Linked DNA regions of Homo sapiens: region 2 is linked to region 1. The links are contacts of gene promoters, found by promoter capture Hi-C in blood cells and fetal thymus (Javierre and others, 2016). All regions are on one chromosome and are shown on one strand. The core of a region is centred on a gene start or on the middle of the fragment in contact, and the rest is flanking DNA. Distances in the headings are between cores, read along the strand shown. Region 1 holds the start of SLC40A1 (solute carrier family 40 member 1). Region 2 has its middle 27 kb from the start of ASDURF.

Evidence for each region. The method cuts DNA at HindIII sites, captures the fragments that hold promoters and counts their contacts. A CHiCAGO score of 5 or more calls a contact.
Region 2: a fragment that was not itself captured here is called in contact with the fragment with the promoter of SLC40A1 in region 1 in 1 of 17 cell types (erythroblasts); the score reaches 5.9 in erythroblasts.

Annotation. Positions count from the first base shown.
Region 1 is chr2:189,579,488-189,582,082 of GRCh38, reverse strand. SLC40A1 (solute carrier family 40 member 1) reads left to right here and starts at 1,297. Exons shown (of 8, transcript NM_014585.6): 1 at 1,297-1,665; 2 at 2,203-2,270. The coding sequence starts at 1,623. RefSeq lists silencers at 1,044-1,213, 1,284-1,343. The HindIII fragment of the contact is 14,460 bases long and covers 1-2,595 here.
Region 2 is chr2:189,632,866-189,635,460 of GRCh38, reverse strand. No RefSeq gene overlaps it. Among named protein-coding and RNA genes, the nearest start is that of ASDURF, 27 kb to the left of the region's middle. The HindIII fragment of the contact is 887 bases long and covers 860-1,746 here.

The DNA.
Region 1 (2,595 bases), core at 48-2,547:
CAGCTGCACCCACCCCGTAGACCTTTGGGGCTCCTGATTGAGAGTGCAGATACAGGGCACATACTCATGCGTGGCTCCCTTCACTACTGGGTGTCAGTCTGGCCTGTGCTCAAGGTGTGGCATCTGGTTGGAGTTTCAATATGTAGGATCCACTACCAGGGTTTTCGTGAGATTAAGAAGGGTAAGGTAACCTACTGGCAAAAGGGGCTGGTATGCCCCAGGGGTTGGTTTGGCACAGCAGGATTAAAACGAAGTCAACCAAGGCTAGAGTCTGGTGTTCTTTAGTCATTCACCTCACCCTCCAGGAGGCCACCGAATGGCTTTATCTGGACAGGGACAGATCCAGGGACACAACTGGGATAACCGGTATTCCTGGTAAGCCTGTCACTGGGGCATTTGGAGGTTAGGTGGGGAAGGGACGCGCGCGTGGGGGCGGGGTGAGAGGGTACAGAGGGAGAAGGAATGATGGTGAAGGGTTTGCTGGGGCTGCAGCATCCTCATTCTGTCTCCAGGACGGATTTGGAGGCCCCAGTTTGGGGATACGGGTAGGTCTGTAACTCGCTGCGGGACTTCACCTTTGCAAGCCTCCGTTTGCTCCTCTCAAGAGGGATGGACTCTGATCTTTGCGCCCCCTTCCTGCCCTTTGATTCTGGTTCTTTGAGGGAAGCCCTGCTATGCAGTCCGGGGAAGGAAAGGCATTCTCTGCTGCAGGCGGGCCGGAATGGGACGGCCAGGAAAGCGGCCTCTGTGGCATGAATTATATTTATTTAGATACCTGTATTAAAAATTATTTTCGTTAAAAAAGGAATCCCCACCCACCAAGCTCGCGCTGGAGCTTTGCACTGCGACCGTCCGGCGGCCGCCCTTTCCCTGAACTGCGGGGTAGCCGGTGCGCAGCGCTTTCTTCCAGCACCTGACGCTTAGTTTCGCGCAGAATCTCCCTACGCCGCCCCGCCGGCTCCACGCGCCTTCCTCCTTTTCCCAGCCCCACGGCCGCCCCCCGAGGTTGCCCTCGCGGCTTCCCGGAGAGCAGGAAAACCCGGGGAGTGGAACGCGTCGAGGCGAAGGTCCCCGCAAGCCGCGCAGGGTGTCTGCGGCCGGTTGGACGCTTGCGCCCGGGGTGGGCGACTCCTCCGGGCAAGGGCGCGGGGACGGCCCGGCGCGCAAGGTTGACGGGAGCTCGTCTCGCGCCGCGGGGACGCCCGGGCGGCCCTGAAGGGGACGGGGCGGCCCCAGTCGGAGGTCGCAGGGAGCTCCGCCCCCGACTCGGTATAAGAGCTGGGCCCGGCCCACGGCGGCGGCGGCGGCGGCGGAGAGAGCTGGCTCAGGGCGTCCGCTAGGCTCGGACGACCTGCTGAGCCTCCCAAACCGCTTCCATAAGGCTTTGCCTTTCCAACTTCAGCTACAGTGTTAGCTAAGTTTGGAAAGAAGGAAAAAAGAAAATCCCTGGGCCCCTTTTCTTTTGTTCTTTGCCAAAGTCGTCGTTGTAGTCTTTTTGCCCAAGGCTGTTGTGTTTTTAGAGGTGCTATCTCCAGTTCCTTGCACTCCTGTTAACAAGCACCTCAGCGAGAGCAGCAGCAGCGATAGCAGCCGCAGAAGAGCCAGCGGGGTCGCCTAGTGTCATGACCAGGGCGGGAGATCACAACCGCCAGAGAGGATGCTGTGGTGAGTGTCGTTGACCGAAAGCATATGGTGGAAACCCAGGTGGGGCTTTGGAGACAAGCAACTCTACACGAGTTCTGGAGGAATGTGGCTCTGCTGTGAACCATAGCTTTGTAAAAAGATCCTTTGACTCATATTTGGTGGACGTTAAGGAAGAAAGGAAATTCAGGGTGTGGGAAAAGGGGTTTGCACACAGGCACGGATGGAGTAGATTGGGCAGTTTGGATTGCCTTGTGTAAAAAAGAAACAAAACAAACAAACCAACCAACCCAAAAAAGAATGCTGAAACAAGAGTTTCTTCACTGTATGTGAAATGTGAAGTTGGGCAGTTATTGACTAGGTCAATAACTGAATTTAGTGAATGGTATTAAGTGAACGAAATACATCGGTTCATAGGTAACTTGATAAAATGTACGTGGTTTGTCCTGCAAAGTAGTTTTTAATAATCATGTTCTAATGAGATCAAATGGATAAGCATTCTGCCCTCAGCTCATTAAGTGACTACCATCGCTTTTTGTCACCCCGCCTGTGTCTTTGCAGGATCCTTGGCCGACTACCTGACCTCTGCAAAATTCCTTCTCTACCTTGGTCATTCTCTCTCTACTTGGGTAAGTGAGAATGCATAGTCTTACAACACAGTTGCGCAATTTTTTATTTCCTTTCGTTCTAGCCAGTTGTATTAAGCCAACTTCCAGTTTTGTCAAGCAGTTAAAGAAATAAATCATCCAAGTACACATGCTTTAATGAAAACGTTATTTACATCGAAGATCTTTCCCCATGAGTGTTAGTTAATGCAACTTAATTATCAGATCATCGTAGTTTATGTAGATAGACAACTATCCAGACAAGATTATCAAGGAAAGGAATATTTGCCTTGTTTTTAAATTTTATGTTGCATTAGTAGCTTTGGTAAATAGACATATCTGCTACAAA
Region 2 (2,595 bases), core at 54-2,553, 53 kb before region 1:
AAGATACTGTAGGATACAAATCCAGAGGGTAGTTGGATATTGAGGCTGAAGTGTAGAGAGTGAAATGAAAGATAATAGAATTATGAGCCTAGGTACTCAGAAATTGGGTGATGCCATTGAAAATAATTTAAGAGCTTCCATTTCATTATGGAAAAATGATAAGTTCATTTTTTGAAGTGTTACACAGGTTAAGTATAATTTGAAATGCTTGAGACCGCAGGTGTTACGTATTTCAGAGTTTTTTGGATTTTAGACTATTTGCATATACATAATGAGATCTTGGGGATGAGATTAAAGTCTAAACACAAAATTCATTTATGTTTCGTATATACCTTATACACATAGCCTGAAAGTAATTTCATACAATATTTTCAATAAATTTGTGCATGAAACAAAGTTTGTGTACATTCAACCATCAGAAAGCAAAGGTACCGAGTGTGGAATTTTCCATTTGTAGGGTGATATCAGCACTCAAAATGTTTTGGATTTTGGAGCATTTCAGATTTCAGATTTTCAGATTAGGGATGCTCAATCTGTATTTGTATGTCAAAGGTAAATCTAAGTGAAGCCCACCTGTAGGTTGTCAAAATATGGTCAGTAACAAGTTAGAGACAGAGGTAGAGATTTTGTTTTGCATCACATTCCTATATTGTCACTGGAATAAGGTAAGTAAGTTTGAAGTGTTGCTATTCTCACCATATTCTTAACATATATTCTGGAATCTGGGTGACAAGTTAAGCTTAGTTTTCATTATTTAGAGTACTTTCACATTTTCTGATTCTGCTTTGATGTATTTTCTGATTTTTAAACTACCCTAATCTTGTATGCATTGCTGAAATGTTACAAAGGTTGGTAAGCTTATTGCTAAGTAGCCAAGTGATTCTTTCCAAAGTCATCATCCATTTTATCAGCAATAATGCTTTCTTTAATGCTTATTAATAATTACCCAAATGTTTTGAGATTGAATATGATGTTTATTATCATCTAATTGTTTTAGCAGAGTTCAAATTACTACTGATCAAATGTTGAACATGATACCCAGCCCTTCACTTTTCTCAAGATTGATATTTCCCTGAGTTCAGAGTACAACATTTTACAATTATTTTTAGAAGTTGTACATTCCTAGCAGTTGACTAGTGAACCAATTACATTCCCCTAAGAACCCATCATAACTTCAATGTCATTATAGTAATTTGCAAAAAAAAAAATTATAGTTTCTTGAGGTAAAAGGGTTAGGTCAGAGTTTTTCAACCTTGGTACCATTGACATTTAAGGCCAGATAATTCTTTGCTGCGGGGTTTGTCCTATGATTTATGGCAGCTGCCCCCAGTCTTCTTGGGACCAGGGAACAGTTTTGTGTAAGACAATTTTTCCACAGACCAGGGGCCGGGGGGAGTAGTTTTGGTATGATTCAAGTGCACTACATTTATCATGCACTTTATTTCTATTATTGCCTTGTAATATATAATGAAATAATTATATAAATTACCATAATGTAGAATCAGTGGGAACCCTTAGCTAATTTTCCTGCAACTAGATGGTCCCATCTGGGGGTGATGGGAGACAGTGACAAATCATCAGGCATAAGATTCTCAGAAGGAGCATGCAACCTAGGTCCCTTGCATGTGCAGTTCACAATAGAATTTGCACTTCTATGAGAATCTAATGCCACCGCTCATCCGACAGGAGGTGGAGCTCAGGTGGTAACTTGAGCATTGGGGAGTGGCTGTAAATACAGATGAAGCTTTGCTTATTCTCCCGCTGTTCACCTCCGGCTGCATGACCAGGTTGCTAACAGGCTGGTCCGTGGCCTGGGAGTTGGGGACCCCTACTTTATAGGATGTCTAGCAGCATCCCTGGCCTCTACCCACTACATGGTAGCAGCAGCCCCATCCTCCAAGTTGTAACAACCAAAAATGGTCCCAGACTTTGCCAAATGTCCCCTAGGGGGCAAACTCATCCCCAATTAAAACCACTTGCTTATTTAGTTCTTCCACTTATTTACATTTCTAATTTCAACTGTATTTTAAATCTTTAATGTCATATGAAATACAGCATACTACATACATGTTCTATCACCAAGGATGTAAGGGATTCTTGCTTTTTAGGTAAATGATGTTATTGGTTTAGGTCTGTATGCTTTTACAATGTGAGCCACCTTACACAAAGTGCAGAATGGTATATAGAAAAAAGTACACTAGAAACTTGTTTTTCTTCTCTCTGACAATGTCACTGAATGTTCTCAATCAAGCATTTAAAACATATTCAACATTCAGTCAACCTAGACTTATTAAGTTACTACTATGTGATTGGCACTGTTGCTACCTACTGAAGGTACAAAGATGAGTAAAATGGTCTCTATCCTCAAAGAAGTCTCAGCCAAGTGGAGAAGCTGGGCAAGGAAACAGCTACACCACAATGTAATAAATATTGTAGCTGAGGAATGGAAATTTGGGAGCTCAGAGGAAAGAGTAACTCTACCTGAGGAAATCATGGAAGACTTTTAAAAGGAAACCAAGCTGGAACAGATGCTTAAGATGAGCAGGAGTTTACCAGGCACAGAGGGAGAACAAGGACTCCAGGCAAAGGAAACAG